Regions from separate parts of the Homo sapiens genome. Here all the other regions are linked to region 3. The links are contacts of gene promoters, found by promoter capture Hi-C in blood cells and fetal thymus (Javierre and others, 2016). All regions are on one chromosome and are shown on one strand. Each heading gives the region's core, a stretch centred on a gene start or on the middle of the fragment in contact. The rest is flanking DNA. Distances are from core to core; before and after follow the strand shown. Region 1 has its middle 14 kb from the start of ZNF852. Region 2 overlaps ZNF852 (zinc finger protein 852). Region 3 holds the start of ZNF501 (zinc finger protein 501).

Evidence for each region. Contacts are between HindIII fragments. The CHiCAGO score rates a contact against its expected background, and 5 or more counts as called.
Region 1: a contact is called between a fragment that was not itself captured here and the fragment with the promoter of ZNF501 in region 3, in 1 of 17 cell types (erythroblasts). The highest score is 5.3, in erythroblasts.
Region 2: a contact is called between a fragment that was not itself captured here and the fragment with the promoter of ZNF501 in region 3, in 12 of 17 cell types (erythroblasts, total CD4 T cells, non-activated CD4 T cells and 9 more). The highest score is 9.1, in erythroblasts.

The regions. Positions count from the first base shown.
Region 1 is chr3:44,522,894-44,526,362 of GRCh38, reverse strand. It overlaps the pseudogene EI24P3. Among named protein-coding and RNA genes, the nearest start is that of ZNF852, 14 kb to the right of the region's middle. The HindIII fragment of the contact is 5,662 bases long and covers 1-3,469 here.
Region 2 is chr3:44,492,698-44,496,426 of GRCh38, reverse strand. ZNF852 (zinc finger protein 852) reads left to right here. Exons shown (of 4, transcript NM_001423469.1): 4 at 1-3,729. Among named protein-coding and RNA genes, the nearest start is that of ZNF852, 16 kb to the left of the region's middle. The HindIII fragment of the contact is 5,935 bases long and covers 1-3,729 here.
Region 3 is chr3:44,728,118-44,731,818 of GRCh38, reverse strand. It overlaps ZNF501 (zinc finger protein 501), which reads right to left and starts at 2,184. Exons shown (of 3, transcript NM_001258280.2): 1 at 1,804-2,184; 2 at 259-343. LOC105377056 (a long non-coding RNA gene) reads left to right here and starts at 2,293. Exons shown (of 3, transcript XR_940788.4): 1 at 2,293-3,027. RefSeq lists an enhancer at 2,304-2,373. The HindIII fragment of the contact is 3,071 bases long and covers 1,334-3,701 here.

The sequences.
Region 1 (3,469 bases), core at 529-3,028, 210 kb after region 3:
GGTCATGCTGGAAGCTGTGGGCTCTAAAATCCCAAGGCAGAGGAGAAGGAAGCTGAAACCAGTGGAACCATTGGCCAGCCTTGGGGCCAAACATAACTGGGGGTGGAGCAGTTTTTTGTACAGCCCCACTCTCCAGTCAGGCAGAGGCCAACCTTATAACCTTATTGGTACAAACTGAAGAGGAGGTTTCTACTACCTTTTTCATAAGAAATCAGTTGGAAACCTTTCCACGGGGCCAAAACAAATTTAGAGCAGTGCTTCTCAACTTTAATGCATGGAAGCACCACTTGGGAGCTTTGCAAAAATCCAATGCCTGAGCACCACCTACAAGATTCTGATTTAATCGGTTTGAAATAAGGTAGAGAATTGCATTTAAAAAAATCTCCCTGTCTCTGCAGCCCAGGCATGGCCAATGTGGGCATAGCATCCCAACCCTGGGAGCACCCCGGTGGAGCAGGCTGCCTGGCACAGAGGAGCCAACTGGGCCCGTGGTGGTGGGTGAGGGGCCAGGCTGGAGCCGTGGTGGCAGAGCTGCAGGGTCCTTCATGATGAGAGATTGGGGGCACTTATATCTCCTCTGCGTAGTTGATAGTTTGGGTACTGACGACATGGCTGACAGTGTCAAAACCTTTCTCCAGGACCTTTCCAGGGGAGTCAAAGACTTCATCTGGGATATTTGTACCATCTCCAGCTAGACACTCCAATCCATCAAAAGAGGGGAGCAGCGTGGAAGAAGGGCAAGCATTGTCCTGGCACAGAGAATACCCCAGAGTATAGAGTGGGAGCAAGAGAGTGAGCCAGCAAGTGTTAGTAGAATTTTCCAGTGTTGCGCTTGGAGGGGTGGACTGCTCTGGTTCAGTCTACTCTTGCTTTATCGGGTGTTTATTCCTGGGCTTCAGTGAGTAACAGCGTGAATTACTTATGATCCATCACTGTGTGGAGATGCTTGGTCATGGCTGGAATTTTTCCTCGTATAAATTTCCAGGCCTTTGGGTGCTCCCCTTGTACATGCCTAGCAAAGTTGTGAATGCCATGTGGTTCCAAGATACAGCTGACCTGGCATTTGAAGCATCAGGGAGGAAGCCTCACCCATTCCCTAGTGTCCACAAAATAACTGCTGACATGCTCTCCAATCTTTTGCTGCAGGCTCTTTTCCCCATTCAAGGAATGTCTGTGAGTCTCTTTCCCACCCACCTTGTTGGTCAGCTGGTTACTCTCCGGCGTTTGTCTCTTCTTGACTCATTCTACTGCTTCAAATATGGTTGGTTCAGTAAAGGAATTGAAATGCACCAGCGGTTCCTCTAACACAGAGAGGAACTGGCTTTACTACTTTGGGTTTGGTTTTTTTGGCTTTTCTCACAGCAATGCAGTCCTCATATATTTTCCATGGCTGCCTTTTCTCTATCCTCTTTCCTTTATTCATTATCAGTGCAATGAGGCAAAGATCCCCGGCCAAGCATACCTCTTTGAGTTGCACCTCTCCTCCTTCGTGGTCTTCTTAAGCAACAGACTCTTCCACAAGACACTCTCACCTGCAGTCTGCCTTGAGCAGCTCAGCCTCTGCAGAGAAGTTCCCTTCACCACATATGTCTCTACCCAGATTGAAGGCTACTGAAGGCCTGAGTCACCTGCCATCGAGGGGATGGGTGGGATTGGAAGGAGGCTGTGGCAGCTCTTTTCCCATTTTACCTCCCCCTGCCAGGAAAGGCACGATTCATCCTGCCAAAGGCCCTCTGCATATTCCCTCTCTGAGGAATTGGAATCTTTATCTCTGGTGCACGTAAGGTAGAATCTTCCTGACACCAGCGTGTGGATTTTTAACACCACTGAGAGTCTGAAAGGACCACAGTTTTTTTAGTTTTAGTTTTTTTTTTTTTACAGCGATTTTTCTAGCATTTGCCAGTCCCTATGGCTGGATTGATTTGAATATTTTGTTTTTCTCCCTGTGCCATTTACCTTCCCACCTTTCCTTCCTGCCTTCTACCACCCTTGGGTGAATGAAATTTGTAATTCCAGCTGTTGCATTTTGTGGATTTGTTATTTTTGTCGTTTTTCTGTGAAGCACAAACATTGGATGTGGGAGGTAAAGGAGTGTCTCAGTTGCTCCTGGTCACTCCCTTTATAGCCATCACTGTCTTGTTTCTTGTAACTCAAGTTAGGTTTTGGTCTCTCTTGCTCCACTGCCAAAAAAAAAAAAAAAAAAAAAAAAGGTCTGAAGAGATGGGACAGGAAGAAAGAGAAAGACCTCACAGCCAGATCTTCAGACCTTCTGGGTTTTGGGGAGAGATTTTCTTTCTTCCCTTTGAAGGAGAAAAAGCTATTTTCACTGGTACATTTAAACTCCCCCAACTAGGCAGAGGTACCAATTCTGGACAAGTGCCACTGCAACACAATGCTCAGAGAGCTTGAACTTTTCATCTCTGTTGTGGGGTGCAGGGTAGAAATTTACTGTTGGCCACTGCTGGGTCTGTTTCATATTTCAAAGGAATATTGGGTGCTGGGGGCTACAAAGAGGAATTGAAGGGGTAAATTTTTTAAACTAATTAAACCTGTGATTGGTTGATGTTTTCCTGTCGTTTTAAGAGACTAAATGTGGGGGGCAGATGTCAAAATACTTGTACAATTTCAAAATGTCACAATGAAACGTGAGCTGGTTACACACACACAAATTTTCCCAGTGTTTTCTAAGTGCAGCTAAGGTTGAACTACCAATTTAGAGGTCTCCGGAGTGGTTCTCCAAGCATGGTGCCCCAAATGGCTGTGTCACCTGGGAACCAGTGATGAAGGCAAGTTCTCAGGTCCCTCCATAGACCTACTCAATCATAAATGTGAAAGTGGGGTCCAGTGATCAGAGTTTTAACACGCTCTCCAGATAAGACTACTGTGTTTCCGAACCATGTCATAAAGGCCAAAGAAACACACACAGGATGCAACTTGAAGGTCCCTTTTGTGGATTCCTGTAATAACCTACATGTGTTATTGAACCCCGATATTTAGATCCATGTACCTGATGTGCAGTAAGCCAAACACTGACACATCAGCACTTAGGAGCAGAGAAAGGTTTATTTAATTTGACCAAACAGAGTGGGTGAGAGACACTCAGAACCAAGTCTTATGTTCAAAGATTTCCCTTTGAACATAACTGGGGGCTTTTCTGAGTAAGGTAGGTAGGCAGGAGGTGGAATGCCTGACAATCAAAGCTGTTTGCATCTCTTGGTCTGATCAAACTTCTGGATGCCATCAAGAAGGTCTGCATCACCTAAGACTCATTGTGATTTATTTATTGTCACGTATGTCCATATAGAAGACCACCTAAACAGGCTTAGTGTGAGCAACAAGGCTGTTTATTCACTTGGGTGCAAGTGGGCTGAGTCCAAAAAGAGAGTCAGCGAAGGGAGATAGGAGAGGGGCAACTTTACAGGACTTGGGTAGGCAGTGGAAAGTTACAGTTGAAGGTGGTCATCTGTTG
Region 2 (3,729 bases), core at 193-2,692, 230 kb after region 3:
GGCTGAGGCGGTCAGATCACCTGAGTCCAGGAGTTTGAGACCAGCCTGGCCAACATTGTAAAACCCCGTTTCTACTAAAAATACAAAAATTAGCTGGGTGTGGTGGTGCACGCCTGTAATCCCAGCTATTCAGGAGTCTGAGGCAAGAGAATCACTTGAACCTGGAGGGCAGAGATTGCAGTGAGCCAAGATCACACCACTGTACTGCAGCCTGGGCAACAGAGCGAGACTCTGTCTCAATAACAACAACAAAACAACAAACCGGAGCTCATGACACGGCTGGAATTTTACCATTTGTGAATATGTATTTTAAATGTTTTCAGCTTGTTTTTTTGTATTTTTTTCCATTTTCTTTTAAAAGATATGCAGATAGGACTTTTTCCTCTTTAACTGTCTTATTTTGGGAGCCCCCAGATTTCAGGGAAGAGCCCCACACTATATGAGCACATGAGTTGGACATTTCTGGTTCCCCGCCCTGAGTTGGACATTGCCAGTCATGTCTGCAGAAGAACCATCCTGCCTGTTGGAAGCTGCAGTTTTACCTTCTGGTTCTTGCCTGCTCATCCCCTACCATACTAAGCCTCCAGAGTGTGGGAATGTGCACCATTTCCTAACTATATTAACTCACTGCCACCAGTCTGGTGTGGGTGCTCAGTACAAGTGAATCCTGAAAAAGCCTCAGGCTCTTGGATGGAGGAAAACTGGCTGCATTTGAAAGCCATACTTCAATTTCTATTGGTCACTGCTAGTATAAACTTTAATTATTGATTTAAACAAATTTTATCTGGATCCAATTATGTTGATAAATTATTTTTAGGTTTAATAATTTGTTAGATTCATTTCCTAGCTTTTCTAGGTTTAGAATAAATAATGATTTATTTGTCTTTTGATGTCACTTATGTTGTGCATTAGCAAGAACTTCAGAAAACATGGAACAGTAGATGTCTTTCTCTTAACGCTTGGGGGAATGTTTTTAGTATTCTGCAGTTTCATATCGTGTTCATTGTTGGATTCTGATGTTCTGTTAGATTTAGGAAGTTTCCTTCTAATCTTATTTCTAGAAGAAGCAGTGTAGTTTAGTGGTTAAGAGCACAGATTTTGTTCCCAGTGCCCTAGGTTCAAATCCTGAGTCCACCACTTTGTTAGGTGTGTGATCCTGGGCAAATCACTTACCTTCCTTGTATCTTATTCCTCCATCTATAAAATGGAGCTACCTCATAGGGTTGTGAAGAATACATTATTGTAACAATACTGGGCACACAGTGCACAGTTTCCCAATTATTATTATACTTACAGTTTTGTTTTCTGTTTTTTTTTTTGACAAGGTCTCCCTCTGTTGCTCAGGCTGGAGTGTAGTGATGTGACCATAGGTCACCTCAGCCTTGAACTCCTGGGCTCAAGAGATGCTCCTGCCTCAACCTCCCCTATAGTTAGGAATACAGGCATGTGCCACCATGCCCGACTAAGTTTTTATTTTTATTTTTTGTAAACATGGGGTTTCACTATTTTGCTCAGGCTGGTCTTGCGGTCCTGGCCTCAAGCGATCATCCTGCCTCAGCTTCTCTAAGTGCTGGGAATACAGGTGTGAGCCACCATGCCTGGCCTATACTTAAAAAGTTTTTATTAGGATTGGTTGCTATATTATATCAAGTTTAAAAACTCCATCATTGTAATTTTATGAGTTATGGTTTTTTCTTTTTGTAATTCATTTTCTTGACAAGTTTGCAAATATTTGCAATTTCCTTGTACTTTTCAAGTAAAATCTATTTGTTCATAGTGAATTTTTATTAAGTACAGAAGTAGATTCAATTTGGTAATGCTTTGCTAGCTTTGCAAAAGAATTTGGAAAAAATTTTGTTTATCTTATTGCTATGGAGAGTTTGTATAACATGGGAATTGTTCCTTGAAGGCTTGCTAAAAGTAACTGGGCCTGGTTCTTTGGGTGAGGGGATTGGGAGGGATATATCTTTAGCAACTGTTTTAGTCAGTTTGAGCTATTATAACAAAATACCATAGAGGATGGCTTAAACAACAGACATTTATTTCTCACAGTTCTGTAGTCTTCATAATTCAACATCAAGATGCCAGAATGGTTGAGTGCTGGTGAGGGCTCTCTTCCTGGTTTGCAGATGGCCCCCTTTTTCCTGTGTCCTCAAATTTCAGAGAGCAAGAGCACTGGTGCCTCTTCCAAGTCTTTTAAGGGCGTTAGTGAGAGTGACAGCCCCATTCTCATGACCTACTCCAATCCTAGTTATTTTCCAAAGGCCCCCCACCCCCAAATATAACATTTGGGGTTAGGGCTTCAACATAAATATTCATTCTATAACATTCCACTCCTAGCCACTCTATTCATATCCTTACATACAAAATAAGTTCATTCCATCCTAACAGCCTCCAAAGTTTTAACTCATTCTAGTATCAACTAACATTTAAAGTCCAAAGTCTCATCTAAATATCTAAATATCTAAATAAAGGCCGGGCATGGTGGCTCACGCCTGTAATCCCAGCACTTTGGGAGGCCGAGGCGGGTGGATCACTACGTCAGGAGTTCGAGACCAGCCTGACCAACATGGTGAAACCCCATCTCTACTAAAAATACAAAAATTAGCTGGGCGTGATGGTGTGCACCTGTAATCCCAGCTACACGGGGAGGCTGAGGCAGGAGAATCGCTTGAACCCGAGAGACAGAGGTTGCAGTGAGCCGAGATCGCACCATTGCACTCCAGCCTGGGCGACAGTGAGACTTTGTCTCAAAAATATCTAAATCAGATATGGGTGAGACCCAAGGTTTAGCTTATCCTGAGGCAAAATTCCCCTCCAGCTGTGAACCTATGAAACCAGACAAGTTATGTGCTTCCAAAATACAGTGATGGGATAGGCAGGATTAGGTATTCCAATTCCAAAAGTGAGAAATTGGAAGGAAGAAAGGGATGATGAGGCTGGGTGTGATAGCTCATGCCTTTAATCCTAGCACTTTGGGAGGCTGAGGTGGGAGGATTGCTTGAGTCCAGGAGTTCGAGACCAGCCTGGGCAACATAGGGAGACCTTATTTCTACAAAAATAATAAAAATAATTAGTTGGGCATGGTGGCTTGAGCATGGGAGTTCGAGGCTACAGTGAGTTGTGATCGTACTGCACTCCAGCCTGGATGACAGAGTGAAACCCTATCAATAAAAAATAAAAAAGGATGGGGGAGCAGGGGGATGATGGTCCTATGCAAGTCTAAAACTTAGCAAGGCACGTTTCATGAGATCTTAGGCTCATGAATAATCCTCTTTGGTCCTATACTGTCCTCTCCAGGACCCCCTGGGCGGTGGTCCTGACCCGATAGATCTGCCAGGCAGGGGTGACTCCCCCGTGGCTTTTGTTGGAGACCATCTGGCCTGTGGAAACTGGGGCAGTATCCCTCATGATCTCTAAATAGCCAAGAGAAGAGTCATTCTTGTATGGAACAATGGACATTCACAGCCTTCCTCATTCCTGGCTTTAGGACTTCAGATACAATCATGTCAGAGCTCAGGGCTTCAACATATGAATTTTGGGGGCACAGTTCAGTCCATAGCAATACTTCCATTCCCCTGACCTGCAACATGTCCAGTTACTTCGAAAAGTACTTGTCATCCACTATATTAATAACATGCTCATTGCCAGCCTATGAAACAAGTTGACCACTCCATACATAAGGTCATAGATAATATGACACATGCAGGTTGAGTTGTCAGCCCTGAT
Region 3 (3,701 bases), core at 935-3,434:
GTCTTCAGTTCAGGTACTCTGATAAGAACTTAGTGCACTCTAGGACCTGTCCCATAACCAATTATTCCATAGCCGTTTTCACAGTGGGCCACCCTCACTGATTTGAGTAAAATGGTATCCATTTCTGTGTGGTCCTGCATTTTCTGCTGGGTCCACATTTAGTGGACATTGGTGGGTCCCACCATAGGTCTGCCATCACTTCTGATGGTAGTCTCACAACCACCACCATCCTGGGCTCTCTAGTTAGAGTTAACTTACCAAGAGACAGGTTGTTAGGAGCACAAGCAATACTGGCTTTTCTCCTGGGGGCTCTTCTCTTGAGGAAAGGCAGGAATTTGAGGCACTGAGGGAGGAAAAAGAGCCACTCATAAATTGCCAGCCTACTTCCTACACCTTCTAGATTCAGGGTAACTCAAGAACATCCCATCTCTAACCAAATGACCATTTTAAGTTCAAATGAAAGAATATCGTTATTATCCTAGAGGAGTATCTCCAGTGACAAAAATTAGTGAGTTGGCAGACTTCAGAGAGATGTGACAATGTACAAAGAGGGCAGGTCCTTCCTAGGACTAAGCATCTGGGCGTAAAAATTTCTTTATACGACATCAGGTTGGAGCCCAATGGCTCCCCTAAGTCTACTGGAAAAGCCATTGATTTCAAAAGTCAAATGCTGCAGGGCTACAATAGAGGGCAGTAGGACCAGTAATGGACTCAGTCAAGAGGTGTGGATTCTAGTCTCAGCTCTGCCACCAATTTGTTCAATGACCTAACACAGGTCACTCAGTCTCATCCATTTCTTATTTGTTAAATGAAATTGAAAAGCTAGATAATATTTAAAGCTTCTTGTAATATCAACATTCTACAAAGCTTTGATTCTATATACAGATGGGAAAAGAGCAAAAACCTCAAATCAAGCCCTTCCAGTCCATCTTTGATTGAATCTGTTTATTCATTTATTTGAAAAGTACTAAATGAGCTAGCCGTGAGGTGAATGGGTCTTGTTAAGAACGGGCTGAATCAACAGCAGGGAAACTTCCTGTCAGTTATCCTCCTACAATTAGAATTGGGGGAATTTCTCGAAAATAACAAGAGGATTGCCTTTGTGTAAGGAGTATCTGCTGTAAGATGTTAAGGACTCTTCATAAGGGAAAGGTTTCAAGAACCCTCCTAATGCAAAGAACACTGTATTCAAAGGCAGGAACCTGGTTTCCTGTCTAATACATCCCAATCCACTAGCATCTCTTAACTGACACTGAACAAACTGTTTAATTATTTTCAAACGTCTCTTTTATTTCCTCATTTGGTCAAATAAGCCAGCAATTATTTTCAAGCTTGCAGTCAACCTTTAATATTTAGCTCAAATGTGAAACTTCACACCTCTTCCTTGTGGGAAAATTTTGACTTTTCCAAGGCCCTTCCTCGTCTACATTCTCAAAGAATTTTACAAGTTTCTACTGTAGGACTTTCTAGTCTGATTACATTCTGTCTTCCACCAGCAAACTTACAAGTATGGCATGGGCTCCAGGACTAGGACTTTTGAACAAGTTACCTAACCTTTTTTTGCTCCAGTTTTTTCAACTGTTAAATGGAGACGATACCAGTAACTACTTTATAGGGTTGTCGTAATGAATAAGTGGGTTACTACATGGCAACTACTTAGAAGAATGCCAGCTGGTAAGCATTCAATAAATAGTGCCTGCTGTTAAAGTATTGAGTCTACATGTCTTCATACGGTACCTATTTTGTTGTTGTTAGAGAAGAATAAATAATGAAGGGAAGGCACTAATTCTTGCATATACTTACTTCAACCCGCACAACTTTGGGAAACGGCAAGGCAGGAAACAGTATTTACTTCTGGAAATCAGAAAACTAAAGTGCCCAGAAGTTCACTGACATGCTTAAGTATGTATAAATCGAACCCAGGTCCTCCGACTCCCAGCCTAGGGCTCTCGAACAGCCTCTCCTTTCTTCATGGCAAGTTTGCCCTAGGCCTCGGGCCTCCGCTCCACAGGCCCTCCAGGAAGAAAAACGCCCTGCTTCCCGAGGGAGGAGCTGGAATCGACCCGCGGCAGCCGGGCACAGCAGAAACCGCTCACCATGCGCTTCCCGCGGCGCTCCCCGCGGCGCTCCCCTCTCGCACCTTGCAACACTCAGGTCCCTGGGTGCTGCCCTGCGGAAAGGAGTAAGTCCCGGACGCGCCCAGCCGGCGTGACGTCAGCAGTCCGCGCCTCGGCTAATAACCACTACCGTCTCCTCTCTAGGAAGGTGGGAGCGGCTTCCGCTCGGTGGTTCCTTCCCGCACGCAGCTACGGGTTTCGGTGCTGCGCCGGTTAAGCCGGCACCAGAAACAACCTGCGACCCCACCTGGCGTGCGTCTTCCAGCACAGGGAAACGGGATGGAAGTCAGAAGGGTCGACCACAAGGAGCTCTTACTGTGCATCAGTTCATCCTGCAAGTCCGCCACATTTAGCTTCCTATGTTACTGTCCTTTGGGGATTCTCAAGGCTTTTCACAAAACTGGCTTCCACCTTCCTCACACACATCCTCATCTGGAAGAAAACTGACCTCTTCACAGAAACCCCTGACACCTTACTGACCCAGGATCTTTGTTCAGGTGGCCAAAAGAAAAAGTTCTGCAGGCCAGGCGCGGTGGCTCACTCCTGTAATCCCAGCACTTTGGGAGGCCGAGGCGGGCGGATCACCTGAGGTCAGGAGTTCAAGACCAGCCTGCCCAACATGGAGAAACCCTGTCTCTACTAAAAATACAAAAATCAGCCGGGTGTGCTGGTGGGCGCCTGTAATTCCAGCTACTCCGGAGGCTGAGGCGCGAGAATCACTTGAACCTGGGAGGGGGAGGTTGCAGTGAGCAGAGACTGAGCCACTGCACTCCAGCTTGGGTGATAGAGTGAGACTCTGTCTCAAAAACAAAACAAAACAAATCAAACACTGCTTTGGGCTCAAATCCCTGATTCTCAGTGTATGAACTTTGCAACTTTACCTCTCTGTGCCTGCTTCCTCACTTACCAGGTATAATAATGGTACCACAGGGTTGTTGTGAGGATTAAGTGAGGTTAATACGTGTGAATTACTAAGAACATCTAGTATTTTTTAAATCTTCAGTAAATGTTAGGACTATTGTCTGTGTCTCAAATCCCAGCTCCAGTACCTATTGTTCTGCCCTGACTTCACTGACCTTTCAGGGCCTCAAGGTAGCACACCCATCCCTTTCTACAAAACTTCAGATCTTGCTGGCTCTAACTCAGGAAATATTTGCACACATGGGCTCATCTTGACAGGTAAAGTCCAGAGATAAAGGCATGAGTGGAGAGTACCTTATTCACTTCCAAGCATTCCTACTGATCTGCAATCTCAGGACAATAGGGCTGTGTGCACACCATCATATCCCTAGTGTGCAGCATATAGAAGTGAACACTTGCTGTATAAATTAATGAGATGCAGCAGAGAAATTATCCATTCCAGGCCAGGCATGGTGGCTCACACCTGTAATCCCAGCACTTTGGGAGGCCATGGGGGGCGGATCACGAGGTCAGGAGTTTGAGACCAGCCTGACCAACATGGCGAAACCCCGTCTCTACTAAAGATACAAAAATTAGCCGGGCGTGGTGGTGTGCCCCTGTAATCCCAGCTACTCAGGAGGGTGAGGCAGGAGAATCACTTGAACCTGGGAGGCGGACTTGCAG